2 separate regions of the Homo sapiens genome follow, and region 2 is linked to region 1. Evidence: promoter capture Hi-C in human tissues and cell types (Jung and others, 2019). All regions are on one chromosome and are shown on one strand. Each heading gives the region's core, a stretch centred on a gene start or on the middle of the fragment in contact. The rest is flanking DNA. Distances are from core to core; before and after follow the strand shown. Region 1 holds the start of SEC61A1 (SEC61 translocon subunit alpha 1). Region 2 has its middle 26 kb from the start of RPN1.

Region 1 (6,745 bases), core at 2,195-4,694:
TTTAGTGCCAAATTAAAACATCCACATTTTTCCTAAACTTTTGGCTGAAACTCCATACTCTCTCTAGAATTACATTAGCATTTTTTGTATAAAATCCAATGACAATTTTCTTATTTGGTACAATATTCCAATTACATCTTTATGGAACTATATCTCAAATGTAATTCTTTCTTGTGTACTCATAATAAAGACAATACAGTGTACTAAATGTTTCCCAGTGTCATAAGATCAACAAAAACCATTATATTCAAAAACCTTTAAATTTGCATTTTAATTATTAAAACACATTCACATAAAAAAATGAAGCTTCTTAGATGATGATTTTAAATACACCTCTTTGATTTACATATTTTTCAAAAAGCTGTTTTCTCATTTGGGTACATCTGGTTTTTAACAGGTGGGTCCAGAATACAATGGCGTGTTCATATCAATATTAATCCTTTTGAAGTTCTAGTAAATGTGTGTGAAATGCTCAATTATACTTAACTATATAATAGTGCTAAAAATTCTGACAGTACCTTCTAAATCTTTTTTTTTTTTTTTTTTTTTTTTTGAGACAGAGTCTCGCTCTGTTGCCCAGGCTGGAGTGCAGTGATGAGATCTCGGTTTACTGCAACCTCCACCCCCCAGGGTTCTAGCCATTCTCATGTCTCAGCCTCCTGAGTAGTTGGGACTACAGGCACGCACCACCATGCTCAGCTAATTTTTTATTTTTAGTAGAGGCGAGATTTCACCATGTTGGCCAGGCTGGTCTCGAACTCCTGGCCTCAAGTGATCTGCCCACCTTGGCTTCCCAAAGTGCTGGGATTTCATGAGCCACCAAGCTTGGCCCTAAATCTTTTTGATTGCTTTATCCTCACTCTGATAACCTTTTTGGGAGTTCTAAGTTTTCAAATACTTAATTTATGAAACTGATTATATTCTTTTAAGTTCTTTTCTCATCGATAATCACAATTTTTCTTCACTTGCACAAGCTTTAAGAGCATTCTGATGAATATATGTTTAACACTTTGATCTTTTAACAATAGAACTTCTGAGCACTCAGTACCCAACATTTCTGTCACTAGCAATGTCAAATTTTTGGTTGAAAAAAATTATTTTTTCACTACAAAACTATAGATTTTATGTAATAAAGTTTATCTTATAAATTATAAATTTTATTTTGTGCTGATTCTTAAACAGTATCAAAAGAAGTTCCAGGCGGGGATTCATTATTATTACAAATTTCTTGTTTATTCTTCTGCAGATATCAAGATTTACATTTATCATACTTAAAAGTATTGAAAATTCATCCAGATTTTTGTGGTCTCTTTCATTCTAGGTGGATGTTTCTAATATCCTATAATAAAATCTTAAATGTATAAATATAAAACACTGCATACCTATTTTCCGAAGAATTAATGTATGTGCTTACAATAGAAATATTTTATTATTTTTTGAGACAGAGTCTCACTCTGTCGTCACCCAGGCTGAAGTGCAGTGGTGAGATCTCAGCTCACTGCAGCCTCGACCTCCCAGGCTCAAGGGATCCTCCCACCTCAGCCTTTCCAGTAGCTGGGACTACAGGCATGCGCCACCATGCCTAGCTAATTTTTTTCTGTATTTTTTTCTAGAGACAGGGTTTTGCCATGTTGCCCAGGCTGGTCTTGCACTCCTGGGCTCAAGTGATCCTCTTGCCTTGGCCTCCCGAAGTGCTGGGATTACTGGTGTGAGCCACTGCACCCAGTCCAATAAAAATATTTTAAACTAGTGATTCTCCTAAAGCAATCAGTGATTTAACACACGTAACTTGGCTGCAGTCCCTGCAGTGACACAGGCCAGATTGTGTCATAATGTGGAAACAACAGGAGGCCTGTTATCAATGGTACTGACATCCTACAACTATTAGCACAAACCAATGAGTTTATATTAAAATTTCTATTAACTAATTGTAATATTTATTGTAATTACTATACTATTTACCCTCGAAATATTTCAACATTTTAACCATCAATATGGTGCAGGGTGCATAATGGCTAAATATCGGATCTAGTCTATATGCTGAACTTAGTCCAGGGGCTGCCAGTTTTAGCTTCAGGCCAAAACTCCAGAAGAGATCATCAGTGGGTCCTGGAAGTGAAGATGGGTTGCATTTCAGACTCTGAATAAAGAGTCAATGTCTTCTTTTTCCCCTTTTTGGTGGGGGATGGATATCAAGTGATGTCACACCTAGACCACTTCACTGAAGTTACCTGCCTGTTCCCAGTAGTCCTTTGAATTTTCCACCAGTGGGTTTGTATTCCAAAAAAGACTTCCTGTCCTGTCCAACTTTCTGAGCCAAGAATGTACAAAACCTGATTATCTGCTAGAAATGGGTGAGAATGGAAAAATCCAAATAGTTGACACCTAAATTAAAAGCAAAAAAGCATCTTGCCACATATGTACCCTCAACTTCTACCTGTCCTGGTCAAGGTTTAGCTCCATGAAACCTTGCCTGATCCCACAAGGCGTGCCCACCTCCTCCCTGCTAAATGCTCACAGCATTAAGTCTGTTTCTCTTAGATGACATCATACCTACTGACTACAGATGCCTGAAAGTAAATTCCAACCCCCAGCCCCAGCATCCCTTGCCCTACCCGTTATCCCCCTTTCCCACACCGATCTTAGGCAATCACACCGCCATGCTTTGCCCACAACAGTCTCCTCAACCTGTTCCCTCATTCCTTCTCGCCAGAATCTATCAAGGCTCGGCACAAAGGTACTCTCCCAGGAGGCCTTCCTGAATTCTTCTGTGAGGCAGACTACTTCCCGAGCTGCCCCGGCCCTTCTCCGGCCAAGTCTCTCCAGAAACTCATCCCATTCGTTCTCAGATGGAAGGGGACCCACACCCACGACAAGCCTCCGGGTTTGCTTAATGACTCAGACAGCGAGGGTGCTCGGTAAGCCCCACCAGCCCGCGCCCTACTCAGCAGGTAATGACGGAGACCTACTAGGTGACGGGCGCCGCGGTAGACGCTGGGATAAGGTCCCTGCTCCAGGGAGCTTACGGTCTATTCACTAACGTCAAAGAGCAGTGAGTGCTGTTACGTGTATGGGAGCCACCAGGGTCTCCGCCTGCCTGCAGGGCCACGCGCGCACTCGACGCTTCGCGCCTGCCTCAGTTTCTCCGTGAGGCCGCACAGCCCCAGTCTCGGGAGGCGTGACACACCCTCCCCGCGCGCTCTCGCGTTACCAAGTCTGCGCAGCCGCACACCCCCAGTCCCGGCGGGCCCCGCGCGCCAGGCCCCTTCCCGACAGGCCCCAGGAGCCCCGCTGCATGCCGGGGCTTGAGGTCTCGGCGAAGCGGCGCGGCGCGGCGAAGCGCGGCGGCCGGCGGGCGCGCGTGGCAGGAAGCGGAAGCGATCCGAGGCCCGGCCCCGGCCCCGCCCCGCGCCGCGCCGCGCCGCTTGCCGCCGGGCTAGCACTGACGTGTCTCTCGGCGGAGCTGCTGTGCAGTGGAACGCGCTGGGCCGCGGGCAGCGTCGCCTCACGCGGAGCAGAGCTGAGCTGAAGCGGGACCCGGAGCCCGAGCAGCCGCCGCCATGGCAAGTGAGTCCTGTAGGGAAGCCCTATTGAGGCCGGGACGGAACAGATCCCCCTTCCCCACACCCGTGCGGTCGGGCGCCCGCCGGCCAACCCTGACCGGCCCCCTGCAGAACGCGGCCCGTGCCCCCGGCCCTTCTCGAGTATCCCCACGCGTCCGGGGTGCGGCCGGCTCCCCTGGCCCCTGCTCTCACTCGTCGTGGGCAGAAGGCGTCCCTGGGTAGCGCGGAAGGTTACTTCTCTGTGTCCCAACTCTTCCTGTTTTGTTTCTCCCATCAAAGTCAAATTTCTGGAAGTCATCAAGCCCTTCTGTGTCATCCTGCCGGAAATTCAGAAGCCAGAGAGGAAGGTAAGTACCCCAAATCGCCAACAAAGAAGGTTTCAGGAAACTGTCTGGACTCTGGAAGTTTACAGTATGATTAAAAATGGCTTCAGCACGGCAATGGAAACTCTCCCTTCTCTTCCCTTGGAGTGTAGTTGTGCTCTGTTATTCCGGAGAGCTGTCGAAAGGTGACCTGGTTGTGTGGAAATTTCCACTGAAATCACTGTGCTTTATTTGGAGCATCTTTGGTGGATGTTGCTCCGAGAACAAAGCCTCCGGTTGCCCTGTCCCAAAAATGGATCCGGGCCATGAATGAATAAGGCCTCAGTTAGGATAGCAGATTGAGTTACCCTCCCTTTTTCACCTCCAACGGGAGCAGATCACGGGTTGGTTTTTTTTCCCAGGAGATGCCCTTTGTATCCAGCTGCTAAAGGGAAGGGCTGTCACTTTAGTATTTACAAATGATTTTGTACCTTTTATGTAGGCTGTCACAATAGGGGGAATAAAGGCTATTCTTTTGTGAAGTCTGCTGCTTTTCACAGACGGTGTATTAAAACAAGGAAAGATTAAATTTAGAGCTGTGCTGAATCAGAAATTGTGTGGAGTGAGTGTTGCCAGTGTAACTACAGCTGTCAACGAAAAAAAGTTTCATTAGGTTCCTAGGTTAGAGAGTGGGGAATAAAATGTTTGTGTCCTCACATTATTTTTCAAACTGTTGTTAAAGCATTCACATGGACACTTGGGTGCTTGGAATCCACTTTCATTTTTTTACGTAAAATAGTTTCATATAAATGCCCATGTGCTGCTTTTAATGGACGAATTTGTAAAGCTTTACCCCCTCAATTCCAGTGTAGCGAAGGGGCATGGCTCTGGAGGCAGGCAAGCCTAGGTCCCACCCTTTACATAGCACCTTAATAGCTATGTGACCTTGGCCTTGTAACTCAGTGTGGTAGACGGAACAAGGGAAATACGTGCAAGGTATAGCAGTGGCTCAGGAAGGGATTAACTCTGGGAGACATGATGTCTTATGGTGGTTTTGAAGGAGAAATAGAAGTCTCCTTGAAGGGACGGAAAGGAATTCCAAATAAAAGGAGTATATAGTTTGCAAAGGCATTGGTGACAAGAGTGTAGCATGTTTGGATGGGAGGTTATTAGATGTAGTTGCTATTGATAGAACATAATTGTAGGTGGGGAACATTAGGAGATGAATAACAAGGGCCAGACATGAGAATGTCACTTTGGAAGAAAAGGAGAGGACTAGAGTTGGTTTAGAGGCTTTTCACATCAGAGGATGAACTGTGGTACTGAGCAAGAATGGATTTAGGGGCTACTAAGAAGCAGAGGAGACAGGACTTGGATAAAGAGCTTTTGGGGTTTTGATGTTAAATTTGATTGTAACCAGGAGAGAGGACTTGGTGATTAGAAAGGGAGTTTTGAAAAAATTGTCTGCTCTTTGTTTCCCATCAAGATTCATTTCAGACAGGTTACTCTGAAATGGCGTTGCCTTCTCTTGGCCACTTTCTAATTTCTTAGTGTGGTGGGATGGTAGGTGGGAAGAGGACCATTCTCAAGAGAAGAAGAGTCCTGTGAATGCCCCCAGCTTTGGATGGAGTATCTGAACACTGATTCACCCACTGTTGTGTGGCCGTATGACTGTGTCCTACTTTGCCTGCATGTATAGTTAGAGGACTGTGACTCCAGTTCTGGCCAGAGGGCCAGGAATGCTGACTCAGTGCCTGCCTAGAAGTGTTTTTAAAGAACACAGTTTTGTCACTTAATACTGTCAGTCTCTCACAAGGTATTTCAACCTCAGAATCTTCCGTCTGTACAATAATTAATGTTTGTTAAGCCCTCTAAAGCCATTAATGTAGTGTAGGCAGCAGGTATTAGTGAAGACACTCAGTTTCAGAGGCAGAAAACCTGGAAGAGTTCCCACTCTACTCTTTAGTGACAGAGGTTTTGGGTGGGAGGTTTTCTAATGATACTTAATACTTAATAGTCATCTTTACAGTGATTCTTGTCACCTATGCAACCTATGTACCTGAGAAGATGTGAAAATCCTTAAACAAATGTTACTAGTAGGTTAAACATGCAACTCTCCTGCCCTTCCCCAATATGGTTTATTACACTGTTTTACCCTTAATTCATAGAAAATACACTATTGAGCAATTCCAAATTACTTGACTCTAGAATAACAAGGTTTTGTGACTGAAACTCAAATGAAAAGTGGTTGCTCGTGTGTTTTACAAGTCATGTTCTATTGTGACATTCTTTGTTCTTGAGTCTTAACTGTTAATGCTAATGGTTAAAAGCACAGTTTGGGACTCAAACTCACTTTAGCATTGGGGTTTGGTACAAATTATTTAGCTCTTCTAAGGCTCAGTTGTAAAATAAAGGTAATGCTCTGTGGTGTGAGGTGAGCTGGGGTGATGCCTGTAGGTCCTTGCATTGTGCTCTGTGCAGAGGAAGTTACGCAGTACATGGTACTTATGTTTGGTACATGGTTTGGCTTCTCTGCTGAACAGAGAAAAGAGTCTGGTTGGAGTCCATTTTTAGAGAAAGGGGTCTGATTGGAGTCCATTTTTATTAATTTGCTTTTCAAAGTAACTCCCTGCTTCAATTCATTCTCTCCTACTCTAGATTCAGTTTAAGGAGAAAGTGCTGTGGACCGCTATCACCCTCTTTATCTTCTTAGTGTGCTGCCAGGTAAGCTCAGGCTTGTATTTCGTATTGGGGAGGGGGATAAGAGTGGCTGGAAACAGGAGTGCTGACTGTTTTGCTCTTTGCCTGTTCCCAGATTCCCCTGTTTGGGATCATGTCTTCAGATTCAGCTGACCCTTTCTATTGGATGAGAGTGATTCT
Region 2 (6,745 bases), core at 1,512-4,011, 620 kb after region 1:
TAACAGGGCATCACATTTTTTTTTTTTTTTTTTTTTTTTTTGAGACAGAGTCTAGCTCTTGTTGCCCAGGCTGGAGTGCAATGGCGTGATCTCGGCTCACCGCAACCTCCGCCTCCCAGGTTCAAGCAATTCTCCTGCCTCAGCCTCCTTAGTAGCTGGGCCTACAGGCTTGCACCATTATACTCGGCCAATATTTTGTATTTTTTGTAGAGATAGGGTTTCACCATGTTGGCCAGGCTGGTCTTGAACTCCTGGCCTCAGGTGATCTTCCCACCTTGGCCTCCCAAAGTGCTGGGATTACAGGCATGAGCCACCGCGCTGGAGTGCAGTGGCACAATCTTGGCTCACTCAACCTCTGCTTCCTGGGTTCAAGTGATTCTCCTGTCGCAGCCTCCTGAGTAGCTGGGACTACAGGCACGTGGCACCACGCCCAGCTAATTTTTGTATTTTTAGTAGAGATGGGATTTCACCATATTGGCCAGAATGATCTCAATCTTTTGACCTCGTGATCTGCCCATTTCGGCCTCCCACAGTGCTGGGATTACAGGCGTGAGCCACCACGCCCGGCCTTATTTTATTTATTTTTTACTGTGTCCCAGGTTTCTTTAAGAACAAAGTGATACATGATGTAGGGATTAAAAGCAAAAGCATCATTGAACTTCACCTTCCCTCCAACCAGTTGTCCCAAAATCCCCTGCCCCCACCCTTTGTGTGCCCAATTCCTTCCTTAGTGAATGAGGAACTTAAGCCCAAAAGCCCTGGCACAAACTCCAGGTTCTCCTCCCCTAGCTTCTTCCCTTCCTCTGTCCCCCATTCCTAGAAGGGCAGGCACCTCAGTTTCAATTCATGGCAGGGCCAAGTGGCAACAGAGACGGGGTAAAGGCTTCCCCTCGCAGCATAGTGAAGTGGGGGCTCCCATAGCCTGGGGTATCAAAATGGGGCCCTGGGGCCGGAGGAAAGAACACTGGCCCCCTGATAAGGGAGACCCAGCAGCCTGAAAATCCTCTCGTAGTGCATAGTCATTGCTTCATCACTTACCCTTCTGGCGCCAGTTACAGAACCACACTGGGGCCACATCCTCTCCAGCCCAACCTGGAGATCTGCTGCAGTGTGGGTTTGTGGGCGCACTGGCTGATGTGGCTGATCTGCTGGGCAATGTGGCTAATCTGCTGTAGTGTGGGTTTCAGGCACTGCAGGAACAAGTTCTCCAGCTTGCCTCTCACTCGGTTCTTCTTCTTTTTTTTTTTTTTTTTTTTTTTGAGATGGAGTCTCGCTCTGTCGCCCAGGCTGGAGTGCAGTGGCGCGATCTCTGCTCACTGCAAGCTCCGCCTTCCGGGTTCAGGCAATTCTCCCGCCTCAGCCTCCTGAGTAGCTGGGACTACAGGTGCCCGTGACCACACCCGGCTAATTTTTTTTTGTATTTTTAGTAGAGACAGGGTTTCACTTTGTCAGCCAGGATGGTCTCGATCTCCTGACTTCGTGATCCTCCCGCCTCGGCCTCCCAAAGTGCTGGGATTACAGGTGTGAGCCACCGCGACTGGCCCGGGTTCTTGTTCTTTCGGCCTGCCTGAGGGTCTCTGCTTTGCATATCTCCTGAAGCTCTTCATTGTTGGCTGCTTCCTCCACCCACTTCTGCAGCAAGGGAGGCAGCTTACACATGTTCTTGAAACTGAGCTGCAGAGCCTCAAAGCAGCTGATGGTCATTTGGCTGAACACCTTCCCAAATAGAACCCCCCAGAGGCTGGGCATGGTGACTCACTTCTGTAATCCTAGCACTTTGGGAGGCCAAGGTGGGAAGTCAGAAGTTCAAGACCAGCCTGGCCTGTAACATGGAGAAACCCCGTCTCTACTAAAAATACAAAAATTAGCTGGGCATAGTGGCACATGCATGTAATCCCAGCTACTTGGGAGGCTGAGGCACGAGAATCGCTTGAACCCAGGAGGCAGAGTGAAACGCCTAACCTTGTTTTTACTCTAACTCGTTACTTTGAATTTTATCCTGCTTGTCTCTTTAATCACCTAGCCTTGCTTCTCATGTAAATAAGACTCTCTCTAGCTGGGAAAGCCAGACAAACTCCAATTGACCCCTTAATTTACAAGATACTAAGGGCTCCTTACCCAACCCCCTTCCGCAAGGAGTTAACCTGTGTAAGCAGATCCTCAGCATTTCAAAGTAGCCCAATTAACTGATAAGGTACTAGCACCAACAATGTATGAAGTTCCCAGGATTTTTCTCAAAGAGATAACAACATAAAGCCTTGAGTTCCTGTCCGGCATACCCCCTATATCTAATTATAATAAAGGTTTAAAGCCTTGCACCTGGTACCGTTGCTCTTCTTGTAACCATTTGTCTTTTAAATTGTTTATCTCTTTGTAACCATTTTTTTTTTATTCTTGCATGTTTTTACTTCTGTAGAATTATTGCATTTGAGTTCCCCTCCCCTTCCTAAACCTAGGTATAAAAGTTAATCAACCCCCTTCCTCGGGGCCAAGAGAATTTTGAGCGTTAGCCGTCTCTTTGGCCGCCGGCTTAATAAAGGACTCTTAAATCGTCTCAAAGTGTGGCGTTCTCTCTAACACCCCTGGGCACAACAAGAGGTTGTGGTGAGCGAAGGTCACGCCACTGCACTCCAGCCTGGGCAACAGAGTGAGACCCTGTCTCAAAAATAAATAAACAAATAAATAAACATTTAAAAAAAGAGCCCCCAGGGTGAGCCCCACACGGGCCTGGATATATCCCAGGGTGATCCTCTTCTGCTTCAGGAGCTTGGCAAATTACAGAGCTTTGATGTCCTGGGACTCGTTGAGGTTTTGCTCCAGCTTCTCCTTCTCTAGCTTCATGGCACCAGCTGGGGCAGTGCAAGGCTCCAGGGAGGCCCCTCACAGTTGCTCTCCACCCAGGCTCCTGCCTCGCCCTCAGGCTGAGAGGTCTTCAAGCCACCTTGGGGCACTAGCCCCACTGCAACCGGAGACCCAGAGTATACCATCTGCCCACGGAACTCATGCAGTGGGGGGCACGGGAGAAACCCCCACATCTCAGAGCCTGGCCCAACACCCGGCCCAATTCCTGCCTTGGAAGCTTAGCCAAGTCCAGCTCCCGCCCCGCTGACCCATTACCTCCACCACCTGGAAGGGGCAAGAAGGTGAAATCCAAAGCCAGGTGTCCCACCATGGGGAAGGAAGGCTCCCCAAGCCAGGGATCTGGTGAAATGAGGCAAAAAGTTTTTAAATTTTAAAAAAAGTTGTTTTAGAAATGAGGTCTTGCTATGTTGCCCAGGCTGGAGTGCAGTGGCTATTCACAGGCATGATCATGGCTCATTACAGCCTGGAACTCCTGGGCTCAAGCGATCCTCCTGCCTCAGCCTTCTGAGTAGCTGGGACTACAGGCATGTGCCACTGTGACCTTCTTAAGGCTTTTGAAATTTTAAAAAGAAAAAGAGTCTGCATTCCTGACAACACACCAATGCCCCATACAAGACTCAGATGTGCCTGCCCTTATTGCTACTTATTGCTTGAGACAGATTAACCCTTGTCTGTTTAAGCCACTATAGAAGGCTACATTGTTATTTGCAATGTAATTTGCATTGTTATTTGCACTATAGAAGGCTACATTGTTATTTGCAGCCACAGTCATAATTATAATTATATGTGATAAATCTTGGAGCTTATTCTACAACAGTACTACTTTATTTTGTAGGAGGGGCTGCATAGAATTCCTGTTAAACAAATGTGTCTTTTTTTTTTTTTTGAGATGTGGTGTCACTCTGTCACCCAGGTTGGAGTGCAGTAGTGCGATCTCCACTCACTGCAACCTCTGCCTCTGCAGCTCAAGTGATCCTCCTGCCTCAGCCTCCTGAGTAGCTGGGACTACAGGTGCCTGCCACCACGCCCAGCTCATTTTTGTATTTTTTGTAGAGACAGCGTTTCACCATGTTGCTCAGGCTTGATGTGTCATTTTTCAAAAATCAAGCCAGTCCCCTATTTATGAACAATTAGTTTGCTTCCATGCTTTTGCCATTCAAACAGCCCTCAACTGTACCTCTTTCTACGTTTGTCTGTGCACATGGGGGAATACATATGTAAGATAGTTTCCTTGGCCCTGAAGTGCTTAATCAAAGGATTGGTACAAAGGATTAATGTTACATTAACAGATATGCCAGCTTGCCTCCTCATGGAGTTGTAAAAATGTACACTCCCACTTGTAGGTATCACAGCCTGCTTTCCCCAGCCTTGCAAACAGTGTCCCATCACAAGTCATTCTGAATGCTAGTATAGGACACCAAATCTCTCTTTCCTCCTAACAACCTGGCTAGGCAGCCAGGACAGGGATTCCTATTTACTACACTCTGGTTTTATAGGTAAGTAAACAGATTCCCAAGGATAAGGAACCTACTTTTCCCAACCTCAACCTGAATTTCTGGGATTAATACCTTCTAAGAATAGATATGAATGTGTAGTGTTGTAGCAGTAGCAGTAGTATTTAATAGTAGTAGTAGTAGTGTAGTACCATCATCCCCATTCCCCATTCCTCAAGCTGGAAGCCATTCTTTTCTTCACTTCTGGTGGAGATGGGGACAAAAGCTTTGTTTCTTTTTTTTTTTTTTGAGACGGAGTCTCGCTCTGCCACCCACGTTGGAGTACAGTGGCAGGATCTCGGCTCACTGCAACCTCCACCTCCCGGGTTCAAGCAATTTTCCTGCCTCAGCCTCCAAATTAGCTGGGATTACAGGCCTGCAACACCATGCCCAGTTAATTTTTGTTTTGTTTTGTTTTGTTTTTTGAGACAGAGTCTGGCTCTGTCGCCCAGGCTGGAGTGGAGTAGCACGATCTCAGCTCACTGCAACCTCCATCCCCCTAGTTCAAGCGATTCTCCTGCCTCAGCCTCCTGAGTAACTGGGATTACAGGTATGTGCCACTAAGCACAGCTAATTTTTTTTTTTTTTTTTAGATGGAGTTTTACTCTTGTTGTCCAGGCTGGAGTGCAATGGCGCAATCTCAGCTCACTGCAACCTCCACCTCCTGGGTTCAAGTGATTCTCCTGACTCAGCCTCCTGAGTAGCTGGGATTACAGGCATGCACCACCATGGCCGGCTAATTTTGTATTTTTAGTAGAGATGGGGTTTCTCCATGTTGGCCAGGCTGGTATAAAACTCCTGACCTCAGGTAATCCGCCCGCCTCAGCCTCCCAAAGTGCTGGGATTACAGGTGTGAGCCACTGCTCCCGACCCATTTTTTCTTTTTTCTTTTTTCTTTTTTTGTATTTTTAGTAGAGATGGGGTTTCACCATGTTGGCCAGGCTGGCCTAGAACTTCTGACCTCAATTGATTCTCCCATCTTGCCCTCCCAAAGTGCTGGGATTACAGGTGTGAGCCACTGCACCTGCCCAAGAGCTTTGTTTCTATCCTTTCTAGTCCATTCCCTCATAATTTCTGAGCCCCAATCCTTCCCTTCTTCCAACCCTCTTCTCTTTGTTTTCCTACTAGGCCTGCCTTTGCGAAGTCCCACTGTAGATCATAAGGAGGCTGCAAGAACTGATGAGTGGTCCATTTCCTTGCAACCTCTAGAAGCCGGAATATACTTCAGGCAGGGCCTTGTTACCAGAGACAATGTGTAGCAGTTAAGGCCAGAGCCTTCCACTCCACACCACCCAGGAATTGCTATGGCTGTTCTGTGACCTTGGCCAAGTTACTTCTGCTTTCTTCACTGTCCTTATTTGTCAAATGGGAATGCTAGTACTAATCACCTCACAGAGTTGTAGTAAAAACTGCAGGCTGGTGTAGTGGCTCACATCTGTAATACCAGCACTAAGGGAGGCAGAGGTGCGAAGATAGCCTGAGGCCAGGAGTTGGAGACCAGCCTGGCTAATACAGAGAGAACCCCATCTACACACATGCACCTGTGACTGTAAAGACTACGTGACTGTTGCTACTACATTATTATTATTATTAACAGAGGACACTATTAAGAATCCAGCATTGTAATCTGAATACTCATTTTAATCCTTCCAACGATCCCCCAGATCGTTGTCTCATTTCACGAAAGAAAAGGAGCCTCTAATCCCATCCCTACCAGGGTTTGGCAAAGTGGGCAAGTGAGAGGCTCAACCATGAGCTTCAGTTCCTCCTCTGTAAATGGTAACAATGGCACTGTCACAAAGAGGACCAAGTGAGACCACAGGAGGCCCGTGTGTGTGCGTGTGTGTGTGTATGTGCCAGAGACAGAAAGAGAGAGAGAGACAAAGTTTCACTCTTGCTGCCCAGGCTGGAGTGCAATGGTGCAATCTCAGCTCACCGCAACCTCCACCTCCTGGGTTCAAGCAATTCTCCTGCCTCAGCCTCCTGAGTAGCTGGGATTACAGGCATGCGCCATCATGCCCAGCTAATTTTGTATTTTTAGTAGAGATGGGTGAGTTCTCCATGTTGATGAAGCTGGTCTCGAACTCCCGACCTCAGATGATCCGCCTGCCTCGGCCTCCCAAAGTACTGGGATTACAGGTGTAAGCCACCCAGCCCGGGCTTTTTTTTGGGGGGGGACGAGTGTCCCTCTGTTGCACAGGCTGGAGTGAAGTGGCACGATCTCGGCTCACTGCAACCTCTGCCTCCTGGGTTCAAGCAATTCTCCTGCCTCAGGCTTCCAAGTAGCTGGGACTACAGACGCCACCACGCTGGCTAATTTTTGTATTTTTAGTAGAGACGGGGTTTCGCCATGTTGGCCAGGCTGGTCTCGAACCCCTGACCTCGTGGTC

Evidence for each region. The method cuts DNA at HindIII sites, captures the fragments that hold promoters and counts their contacts. A contact is called where the count stands out against the background at its distance.
Region 2: a contact is called between a fragment that was not itself captured here and the fragment with the promoter of SEC61A1 in region 1, in 1 of the 25 tissues and cell types used here (dorsolateral prefrontal cortex).

The regions. Positions count from the first base shown.
Region 1 is chr3:128,048,993-128,055,737 of GRCh38, forward strand. It overlaps SEC61A1 (SEC61 translocon subunit alpha 1), which reads left to right and starts at 3,445. Exons shown (of 12, transcript NM_013336.4): 1 at 3,445-3,567; 2 at 3,843-3,910; 3 at 6,524-6,589; 4 at 6,681-6,745. The coding sequence starts at 3,561. LOC102723759 (a long non-coding RNA gene) reads right to left here and starts at 3,183. Exons shown (of 4, transcript XR_007096073.1): 1 at 2,970-3,183. RefSeq lists a cis regulatory region at 3,010-3,626 and a silencer at 3,119-3,758. The HindIII fragment of the contact is 6,890 bases long and covers 566-6,745 here.
Region 2 is chr3:128,673,834-128,680,578 of GRCh38, forward strand. It overlaps the pseudogene POU5F1P6. Among named protein-coding and RNA genes, the nearest start is that of RPN1, 26 kb to the left of the region's middle. RefSeq lists enhancers at 1,503-1,572, 6,687-6,745. The HindIII fragment of the contact is 6,212 bases long and covers 1-5,867 here.